Linked DNA regions of Homo sapiens: all the other regions are linked to region 3. Evidence: promoter capture Hi-C in 16 types of primary human blood cells and fetal thymus (Javierre and others, 2016). All regions are on one chromosome and are shown on one strand. Each heading gives the region's core, a stretch centred on a gene start or on the middle of the fragment in contact. The rest is flanking DNA. Distances are from core to core; before and after follow the strand shown.

The links. The method cuts DNA at HindIII sites, captures the fragments that hold promoters and counts their contacts. A CHiCAGO score of 5 or more calls a contact.
Region 1: a fragment that was not itself captured here is called in contact with the fragment with the promoter of RSPH3 in region 3 in 2 of 17 cell types (naive CD8 T cells and total B cells); the score reaches 8.4 in naive CD8 T cells.
Region 2: a contact is called between a fragment that was not itself captured here and the fragment with the promoter of RSPH3 in region 3, in 1 of 17 cell types (M0 macrophages). The highest score is 5.1, in M0 macrophages.
Region 4: a contact is called between a fragment that was not itself captured here and the fragment with the promoter of RSPH3 in region 3, in 2 of 17 cell types (fetal thymus and naive CD8 T cells). The highest score is 5.9, in fetal thymus.

Annotation. Positions count from the first base shown.
Region 1 is chr6:158,199,934-158,202,633 of GRCh38, reverse strand. No RefSeq gene overlaps it. Among named protein-coding and RNA genes, the nearest start is that of GTF2H5, 33 kb to the right of the region's middle. The HindIII fragment of the contact is 7,369 bases long and covers 1-2,700 here.
Region 2 is chr6:159,698,820-159,701,519 of GRCh38, reverse strand. It overlaps a transcript of SOD2 not described here. Among named protein-coding and RNA genes, the nearest start is that of SOD2, 6.9 kb to the right of the region's middle. The HindIII fragment of the contact is 1,628 bases long and covers 637-2,264 here.
Region 3 is chr6:158,998,865-159,001,564 of GRCh38, reverse strand. RSPH3 (radial spoke head 3) reads left to right here and starts at 1,363. Exons shown (of 8, transcript NM_031924.8): 1 at 1,363-2,130. The coding sequence starts at 2,015. TAGAP-AS1 (TAGAP antisense RNA 1) reads right to left here and starts at 1,692. Exons shown (of 5, transcript NR_183546.1): 1 at 1,173-1,692. RefSeq lists enhancers at 1,055-1,104, 677-1,648, 1,515-1,674, 1,845-1,914, 1,945-1,994 and 2 more. The HindIII fragment of the contact is 7,152 bases long and covers 90-2,700 here.
Region 4 is chr6:158,224,824-158,227,523 of GRCh38, reverse strand. No RefSeq gene overlaps it. Among named protein-coding and RNA genes, the nearest start is that of GTF2H5, 58 kb to the right of the region's middle. The HindIII fragment of the contact is 2,829 bases long and covers 11-2,700 here.

The DNA of each region.
Region 1 (2,700 bases), core at 20-2,519, 800 kb after region 3:
TTTTAGTAGAGATGGGGTTTCGCCATGTTGCCCAGGCTGGTCTTGAGCTCCTGAGCTCGGGTGATCCCCTGCCTTGGCCTCCCAAAATGCTGGGATTACAGGGTTGAGCCACTGCGTCCGGCCTAAACATTTTTCTTTAACTTCTATTTCTCTATGACACCATCACTTTGGGTGTTTGAGCTTAGCTACTCAAAATGTGACCTGCCAGACAGCAGCACTGCCATCCCCTGGAAGCCTTCTAGAAATGCAGAATCTCAGGCCCCAGCCCACACCCACTTAATCGGAATCTGCATTCTAAGGACTTCCAGATGATTTGTAAGTACTTTAAAGTTGAAAAGCACTGATATAGACTAAGAAGCCCTCAAAGGCATATCTGCCTCAGTCAAGACCATAACAACTTTATGCTGGAAAATTTTCAGAGTGGCTTTTGGACCAATTGCCCAGTATAGTCATAGTTAGAGGTTTAAACACTCATAGAACATTTACTTTTAGACATGGTAGCTTCTACTACCATATCCAAAGTGCAATAGTTACAAATTACAGCTGCAAATAGCACCTGATTTAATGTGTTTTTTTTTGTTTGTTTTTTTCTCTGTTGCCCAGGCTGGAGTGCAGTGGCACGATCTCGGCTCACTGCAACCTCCGCCTCCCGGGTTCAAGCAATTCTCCTGCCTCAGCCTCCTGAGTAGCTGGGATTACAGGTGCCCGCTACCACGCCCAGCTAATTTTTTTGTATTTTTAGTAGAGACGGGGTTTCACCATGTTGGTCAGGCTGGTCTCGAACCCCTGACCTCGTGATCCACCCGCCTTGGCCCCCCGAAGTGCTGGGATTATAGGCATGAGCCACCGCGCCCGGCAGATTTAATGTGTTTGATAAAACTGACATAAGACTAACCCTTCCATTCCATGTCCACAGAAGTTCAAAACCTTCCAAGATTTCTGTGAATTCTTCATGTCACTAAATTAGTTGTGTTTGTTTATCTCTCACGGACCTGCCTCTGCTCTCCCTGTTTTTGTGTGTCAAACTCAACTTCTGTCCTTAATTTAATAAAATATAAGTCACACATCCAAATACCTTATGTAAGTGCAGATGTTACTGAGGGCTTGAGGGAGCCGGAGGAGTGATGAGAGCTAGGTAAACCAGTTAATACTGAATTAGACATCTACCTCCGAAAGACTCTGCCTGAGAAAGGATATGCTGACATAGCTTAAGAGTTTGTTTCACACACACACACACACACACACACACACACACACACACACACACAAAAGCATGGTAAACAGTAAATAAACACAAGACTAAAATATCTTAGTGAATTTATGTTTAAAAAAAAAAAACTTAACCAATTATGAGTGCTGCAATGACTTTCCTCCGTCTAACCAAAGGATCCAACTCAAGCTAGCTACTGTCAATAAATAAGATCCTGCAACGACTTGGGGAATCAGTTATCTAATTAGTGAATTTTAACAAAAGCTGGTTCCTTGCTGGGCAGACTCAGCATTTCCTTGGCAGTAAAAGGAAACAGCTGTGCTGGTAGATTAGCCTACTGGAAACCGAACGAAACCCAAAAACAAAACCTCCTACCCAGAGTCTCCATTGTGCACACACCGGCCCAGGAGTTCTCAGCTCTGAATGCACAGCAGAAGCACCAGGCAGGCCTTTTAAAGATGCTGACGCTTGGGTCATATCCCAGAACAACTAAATTTGAATGACTGGGGGCTGAGGCCAGGCATCAACATTTTTAGAAAGCTCCCCATCTAAAATCAGAAAAAAAAACTTTCCTCTGAAATAGAAATCCTGCTTCAGGTTTTTCATAAAGGAGCATGAAAAATTAAGGGAAAAGGCAAGTGTCAAAGCAGTGTGATCTCATTGGGATAGGGAGTAGAACTCTTTTTTTTTTTTTTTTTTTTTGAGACAGTCTTGCTCTGTTGCCCGGGTTGGAGTGCAGTGGCGTGATCTCTGCATACTGCAAGCTCTGCCTCCCGGGTTCATGCCATTCTCCTATCTCAGCCTCCCAAGTAGCTGAGACTACAGGTGCCCGCCACCACGCCCGGCTAGTTTTTTGTATTTTTAGTAGAGACGGGGTTTCGCCGTGTCAGCCAAGATGGTCTCGATCTCCTGACCTCGTGATCTGCCTGCCTTGGCCTCCCAAAGTGCTGGGATTACAGGCGTGAGCCACCACGCCCAGCCAAAACTCTTTTTATATTCTTTAAAAAAGTGAAGATTGTCATTAGCTTTTAAAATTTTTTTTGAGGCTGGGCGTGGTGCCTCACGCCTGTAATCCCAGCACTTTGGGAGGCCAAGGCGGGTGGATCATGAGGTAAGGAGATCGAGACCATCCTGGCTAACACGGTGAAACCCCGTCTCTACTAAAAATACAAAAAACTAGCCGGGTGTGGTGGTGGGTGCCTGTAGTCCCAGCTACTTGGGAGGCTGAGGCAGGAGAATGGCGTGAACCCGGGAGGCGGAGCTTGCAGTGAGCCAAGATCGTGCCACTGCACTCCAGCCTGGGAGACAGCAAGACTCCGTCTAAAAAAAAAATGTTTTTTGACACAGGGTCTCACTTTGTTGCCCAGGCTGAAGTGCAGTGGTGCAATCACGGCTCACTACAGCCTTGACCTCGTGCTCAAGCGATCTTCCTGCCTCAGCACCTCCCCCAGCCCCAGTAGCTGGGACTACAGGCATGCATCATCATGCCG
Region 2 (2,700 bases), core at 201-2,700, 700 kb before region 3:
GGCTCACTGCAACCTCGAACTCCTGGGCTCAGGTGATCCTCGGGCCTCAGCCTCCCAAGTAGCTGGGACTATAGGCATGTGCTATCACGCCCAGCTTGGTCCCGTGACCTTTTAAAAAATATATGTTCTTTAGTAATAAAAAGTCTTATAATCACTTTAAGTTAGAACACAGGCTCAATTCACTATCCAAAATGCTCCCATGTGAGAAGCAAAACTCTGAAAGTGATTTAAAGTCAAAACTTCATCACAGGCCTCTAGCAGGCCAGCAGCCTACAGAGGGAGAAAGATGTTGGCAGCTGGCAGGTGCCTTCTCTAGCGTCTTGCCTTCTGCTGCTGCTGCTCATCTTTGAGCATGCTAACCATGGTTTCTCAAATCTCCAGGGATTGGCCTGGAGAGGAAGCAGGTGTGGGGTTATATTTATATTGCTCACAGTGGTGGCATGTGGGTGGAATACAGGGAAATCTTACATATTGTCTTGCCTGACAGTTGCTTTAAGTGGACTCCTTCTCATGGTTTTGGAGACCACCCCATCACTGAGAATTTGTGTCTCCTAGAGTTCAGTCTAAAAGCCGAGATCCTACATTGTGTTCCAGGGAAGCTTAAGAAAATTAGGTCTCTGCTTGATTTGGAAAGCTTAGACTGAACCTAAATGAAAATCAGGTCAGTAAAAAGTCAGAGTTTAACAAAGATAGATGTTATGTCCCAGAGACCAGACATTTAAGCATTACTTTCAAAGTGCACTCAGAGAGATATTTGTTCTTCATTTAGTACTTAGAGACTAAGTCTTATCCATGCCATCAAAAAAATGGGAGTTGGAAAACATGCCACACATGTTAACAATGCATTGATTTTTTTTTTTTTTTTTTGAGACAGAGTCTCGCACGTCACCAAGACTGGAGTGCAGTGACGCAATCTTGGCTTACTGCAAGCTCTGCCTCCTGGGTTCATGCCATTCTCCTGCCTCAGCCTCCCGAGTAGCTGGGACTACAGGCGCCTGCCACCACACCCAGCTAATTTTTTGTATTTTTAGTGGAGATGGGGTTTTGCTGTGTCAGCCAGGATGGTCTCGATCGCCTGACCTTGTGATCCACCCACCTCGGCCTCCCAAAGTGCTCGGATTACAGGCGTGAGCCACCGCGCCTGGCCAACAATGCATTTTAACTTAAACCATGTAAATGAATTCAGATGAAGAACCAGAAAATTACTGGAGCTACTGCATCACCACACTAGTAATGTGTTGTCTCTAATTTCCATTAATTCTCTAAAGTGGAGTGGCATTTAAAGACACCTGGAAACCAATCTGATCCCTTAAATGTTTAATAATTGTCCCACTCTTAAATATGTTTTGTCCACATCTAACTGAACAGTGATCATTTTTAGTGGCTCACCTCTAGTGTACCAACATATAGCTGACTAGTTCCTCAAACTAAATATCTTTAGCATGAAAATGAAGTTTTATTTTATGCGATTTTATCTAATTTCTCACCAGAGGGTAAATGCAGATGTAAGCTGGCACGAGAGGAGGGTGATGCAGGCCAAGATGGATTGAGTCCTGGGAGTTGCCTGAGATGGGACATAGGTTCCCAGAAATACTGTGATATCAATACTGTTCTCAGTGGACCACAATCTGGCATGGACCTGGGTGGTATGCGAGGCCACTCCTCCTGTGTACCTATTTTGGCTGCTCCGAGTAGATGTACAGTGTGGAGTGCAGCCCCTGGGTTGTGCTGGCCCAGAGATTCAGCCAGCCAAGATCCTTATGCTTGCTCACAGCCCTCAGTGGTCTGGGCTACTCTTTAGTAGCTTGAGTAGCCCTTGAGAGTCATTCTTGGAACTGTGCACCTGAAATCAATCTTACTCCATGACAAATCCTGGGATATGAACTAGAAGTTGGCAGTTTAATAATGACAGATCCCACCCTTACATAGAATGCAGTGACCATGTTTGTTTTTTTTTTTCTCGTGGAGTAGTAATGGGGAAGAGGTGGTGTCCATTTCCATAAAGGAGGCAGGATGTTGCAGGAAGTCCTCATGAAAGGATCTTATGGAGGGCTCTGCCGGACTCTCAATATGGGACAACCCTTCTCTTTTGGCCTCCTGGGTCCCCAGCAAGTCTGAGTCTTTCACTAGACTAGGTTGGGAAGAATGAGCTGGGCCATTGTGAAGGGAAACTCCAGGAAGCTGGGTCTTCACTGAGGCTACAAAGCAAATGCCATCTAAGGGGCAGATGGACCAAGGTCAGGGCATAGAAGCAATGTCAAGCTTTAGGTCCAAGAGTGATGACCAGAGTCGTGTAAGAGATGGGACAGCAGGCCAATCAGGATTTGAGGAGATAGGGATAAGTTGGGAAGTTGTGTAGGGACAGAAGGAGGAAGAAAGTTTCAAATCTTGGGCTCCAATTAGATAAGGCTGGGCCCAATTCTTTTGGGTGTGAAAAATGTGGGAGAGGGAGTGGCAGCTGTTTAAAGGCACGGAGCTACACAGGTTTAACAGCAATACACTTGACCCTTGAACAACATGGGTTTGAACTGCATGGGTCCACTTCTATGTAGATTTTCTTCTGCCTCCACCCCCGCCCCCCACCCCCCAGACAGCAAGATCAACCTCTCTTCCTCAGCCTACTCACCATAAAGATGAGGAGGATGAAGACCTTTATGATGATCCACTTCTGCTTAATGAATAGTAAATATAATTTCTCTT
Region 3 (2,700 bases), core at 114-2,613:
TCCTCCCTGGCCAAGTGTTTCTTGGAGGCCTAGAAAGACCGGTTACCTGGTCTAATCCAAATATGGTGGTCTTATATAGATCCTAAGCTTAAATCAATATGATGTAATTCTGGTCAGTTGGGAGTTTACGAGGGGGTTTTGCTCTTCCAATAAAGACAAAAGAGCAGATACTTCTATTACTACTTTGTTGAAGCCAACAACCCAGGTGACAGAGTGGAAAGGTAGGGGAAAAAACGTGTTGTTGATAATGTGCTGAGCCCCCAAGTTACCCTCCAGGTTAACCAACCTGGGGAGTGTAAAATAATGAATTCCTTATTATTTCAGCCACTTGGAATTGGTTTTTTGTTACTTGAGGGAAAAAATATTCTAATTAATATGCTAGTGTTTACTGTTTCCACGATGTGGTGTCAGCCTGTCTATATATATTTCTACAACTCATCTACACAAACCTTGCTTACAGTTTTCCAAATGCACCTTGGGCTTCTTGAGCCTTTGATCAAGCCATTCCGAATGCACTTCCCCCAAGAGGCTGGCCAGTTAAAATACTATCATTTATCAAACACAACTTAAATGTCACTTTCTCCTCTAGCCCTTTCAGAAATTACCTCAAAATTAAATGATCAGACCTAAAATATGTTGGGAGTGTTTTCACCTCTAGAATTTACCATACACCTTTATGCTAGTGTTACTTATAGAATGCCTACATCTGCTTTAGGTCATACACTTCAAAGCACAGAACGGTCCAGATCTTAATATAAAGGCTTGCCATTTACCAGGCACAGCTCTAAGTATTAACGGTTTTAATCCTCAAGACAAAACCTAAAGAGATAAATTCTTCTATTGCCACTTTGTGGATTAGGAAAATGAAGCACAAAAACATTTAACTTGCCTGAGGTTTCGGAGCTAGTACATTCTAGAACCTGGATTCAAATCAAGACAGCAATTAGCTGAATGAAGGTGTAACTGCAAATGCAAATAACTGATCACAAGGGATACACATTCACTCATACAAGATAGAAGATTTTTAACGTTGCTGGTACTAAAACCAAAGCGTCTGCGTTTTTAAGCGCAGCCCCACCCCGCAATACTAGAGACATTCTTTAGAGCTGGAAGCCTGATAGATTAAGGGGAACTATGCCTTTGTATTTTTTAAGACTCAATAAATTGCTCACTTCTTTCCCAAAATGAGGTGTCTGTGGGGGAGGCCCCTGTCGCTCCGTGTGCCAAGGGTCCTCCGATTGCTAGCACACAGCGGTGAGCAGAGAAGGTAGGTGAGGAACTGCACTGACTCAGCTGCAGAGGGCGGCGGCAGCCCGCCCCTGGGGCGGGAGAAGGGCAGGAGCCGGGAGACACCAGGAAGCTCTTCCCCGCCCGGGCACGTAACAGAGCTGGGAGCCTGGCTGCCAGGGGCGTGTTATCGCGGGGGCAGCCTGGGAGCGCTGCTGCGCCGCGGCAGGAGAAACAGCCGAGGACACCCTGGAAGAGCAGGAGCACGTGGGCCTGCGAGAATGGCGCCAACACCAGCCCTGCAAAGCCACATTCCAAAGCCGGGCCAAGGACAGCCACCGTTGCCCCGCAGGCCTCAAGGATGACGGTCAAGCCAGCCAAGGCCGCCTCCCTAGCCAGGAACCTCGCAAAGCGCAGGCGCACCTACCTGGGTGGCGCGGCTGGGCGGAGTCAAGAGCCGGAAGTCCCTTGTGCCGCAGTCCTTCCCGGGAAACCTGGGGACCGGAACTGCCCGGAGTTCCCGCCCCCAGACAGAACCCTGGGTTGCTGGGCAACCGATGCGGCCCCCGCAGCTGGTCTCTGTGGTGCTGGGAGCGAGCCCAGTATAGCTCCCACCTCCTGCGCTGGTAACCTCCCGTCCCGCCCGCCTCCCTTGTTGTCGCCTCTCCTCGCGTCGCGGAATCCTTGCCCTTGGCACTACTTACATCTCTCCGGGTCCCACAACACCTTAGCGCCCACCTGCTTCAAAGCCAAGCTCCACCGAAAGCGAGGCAGTCAGCCCCCGGACATGGCCTCAGCGCTGACTGATCGCACCTCTCGGGCCCCGAGCACCTACACCTACACCAGCCGGCCCCGAGCACTGCCCTGCCAGCGCAGCCGTTACCGGGACAGCCTGACGCAGCCGTGAGTGACCAAGCCAGCCCCTGTGTGGTCCATACTTGCACCCCATCCCCAGGCCGGGGTCTGGCCCCTTCGCCCTGGCAAAAAAGCTGCTTATGCTGTCTTCCCTTGGCTGCACTCTGCCGAAATAAAAGTTCTGCCCTAAGGAATCTCCCGTGGTGTGGAGGAGTGAAGCAGGAAGGGGCATGGGTTGGGCATCAGTTAACTTTTAGTGATATGAGTTGCTGCCGTGGTCCTTAACATGTACACGAATTGGCTCATTTCACAAAGTTTGAATTGTACCAGTGTGTATTGAGGGCCAACTACGTGCTGAGCACCTTACGGGGGGCATTCAAATACGTTTTCTTAGTTAATCCACAGTGCTGTGAAGTTGATTTTATAACTCCATTATGCAGATGAGGAGACCGCGGTGCAAAGATATCCAACAGTAGCATATCCAAAATGGGAGCCGAGTAAATCTCTTCGGCAGGCTTTGAGCAGGAGTAAGATTATTCTTCCATGCAGGACCACAGATTGGTTTTTTGTGGTGGTGGTGGTGGTGGTGGTGGTGGTTGCTGTTGTTGTTTTGAGACG
Region 4 (2,700 bases), core at 176-2,675, 770 kb after region 3:
GGGAAAAGCTTCTTACTACCCTGACCAAGCTCCCAAAAGTTCTGAGATACGTGACCTTTCTTTGAAAGTTACTCTTCAAATAACTTTGCTTTGCATCTGCCTTGGGTCACACAGTGAGCTCAGAGCCCAACTGAATCTGATAGGCATTCTGGTAACAGTGTATCTTGACCACTTATTAAAACGTGGCTGTGCTCCTGGCGGTGGTTAATCACCACTGTCCTACCCTAAGGCTGGGCCTGGGGGCACAAGGGATCCATAGTCACAGCCAGCCAGGCACCTGGGTTGGCCTCTGTTCCCTTCCCTTCTCTCCACACTTCTTTGCACCCCTCCTTGGCCATCATGTTCCTCTAAGACATCCAGACAATGAAGCTCCAGCAGCTCTTCTTGCAGGCCTCTTCCCTGCCTCCCTGTCACCAAGCAGCCTGCTGGGCAACTCCCCTCCTTCTTGGCTGCGACATAACTCAGAGTCCAAAGTTTCTGCTGTCTCAAGCCCTTCAGCCACCAAGACACTCAGCACAGGGATAGGGAAACTGGATCCTGGACATAAGGAGATGGCGGAGGAGTCAGAGCTTTTGAAGAATAAGATGCAAGCCCCTCCCCTTTCGAGGTGTCCTGAGAGCCAAAAATGCCAGCACCAGCTGAGGCTTCATCACTGGAAACCCAGCGTCCGGCACCAGGTGAAACGCTGTAGCCCCGCTGTGCTCCGCTCAGCCATGCCACCTGCAGACTGTCCTGCAGTTCTGGAGGCCACCACAGCCACACGTGAAGAAACAGTGATGAGTTGCAGCACATCCTTTGAGGGTGGCCAGGATGGTGAGGACTCCAGAAGCTGTCTTACAATGTCATACAGTTTTATAAACACCTGAAGAAGAAAATAAGAATGTTTAACCTGGGAAGAAACACACTTACAAGCCTCTGCTGGTGAACTTTGTCCCATTGAGAGCAATTGTATGGGAGGGTTGTTCCTTTTTTTTTTGTTTTTTGTTTTTTGTTTTTGAGACGGAGTCTTGCTCTGTCGCCAGGCTGGAGTTCAGTGGCGCGATCTCGGCTCACTGCAACCTCCGCCTCCCGGGTTCTAGTGATTCTCCTGCCTCAGCTTCCCAAGTAGCTGGGACTACAGGTGCATACCACCATGCCCAGCCAATTTTTGTATTTTTAGTAGAGACGGGGTTTCACCATGTTGGCCAGATGGTCTGGATCTCTTGACCTCGTGATCCACCCGCCTCGGACCCCCAAAATGCTGGGATTACAGGTGTGAGCCATCATGCCCGGCCCGGTTGTTCCCTTTTGATTATTTATTGAGCTTCTACTTTAAACCAGGCAGTGTCCAAATGAGAACAAGTGTGTGGGAACCTATGAAGGGGCTTTGGATCAGAAAAGGAAGGGCCTCTGCTAGGGCAGTCGCCAGGGAGGTGTGTGGCCTTGCAAAGTAGCCTTAGCCCACCCACTTCTATCTTTTGACTCTGATGGCCTGGCCTGGACACACAGAATGCAACCCGGGGTCCTACTCACCCTCTGCCTTAAAGGCTCGAGGCTCTAATCAGCTAACTCGTCCCCTTCCCAGCCTGCTCAGAGCCTCCCAGAGCAAAGTAATACCTGGACCAAGATCTAGAACCAAAAGGCCTGCTTGGTTCACTCTGGAAAGGAGAAGATGGCTTACAAGAAAAGAGAGCTTTTGTCCTTGTCTGCTTCCCCCATTCGGGAGAAGGGAAGAGGTGAGCGGGCTGCGGTACTTTGTACACACTTGAAGCGCCACTCTCCTTCCTCCCGATCCTTTCATTGCTGAGGTGGTCCTTTAGGGCCCTGAATTCTGAGCAGACTCTCAGTAGATGCACATCGTTGGGTACACATTTTCTTTTTTTTTTTTTTTTTTGAGACAAGGTCTTGCTCTATTGTCCTGGCTGGAGTGCAGTGTCGTGATTACAGCTCGCTGCAGCCTCAACCTCTCCAGGCTCAGATGATCCTCCTGCTGCAGCCTCCTGAGTAGTGGGACCACAGGTGCATGCCACCACACCTGGCTAATTTTTTTATTTTTTGTAAAGATGGGGGTCTCACCATCCTGGCTAACAGTAGTGAAACCCCGTCTCTACTAAAAATACAAAAAAATTAGCTGGGCATGGTGGCAGGTGCCTGTGGTCCCAGCTACACGGGAGGCTGAGACAGGAGAATGGCGTGAACCTAGGAGGCGGAGCTTGCAGTGAGCCGAGATTGCGCCACTGCACTCCAGCCTGGGCGACAGAGCAAGACTCTGTCTCAAAAAAAAAAAAAAAAAGGGGGGGGTCTCACTATGTTGCCCAGGTTGGTCTCAAACTCCTGGGCTCAAGCAATCCACCCACCTCGGCCTCCCAGAGTATTGGAATTACAGGTGGGAGCTGCTGCACCTCGCCCACACTTTCTTTAAGCAGGATGGTGGACAGTTCAAAAGGCATTGACTTGGGGCCAGAAGCAGTGGCTCACATCTGTAATCCCAGCACTTTGGGAGACCAAGGTTGGTGGATCACCTGAGGTCAGGAGTTTGAGACCAGACTGGCCAACATAGTGAAACCTCGTCTTTACTAAAAATATAAAAATTAGCTGGGTGTGGTGACGCACGCCTGTAATCCCAGCTACTCAGGAGGCTGAGGCAGGAGAATCACTTCAACCCGGGAGGCGGAGGTTGCAGTGAGCTAAGATAGTGCTACTGCACTCCAGCCTGGGGAT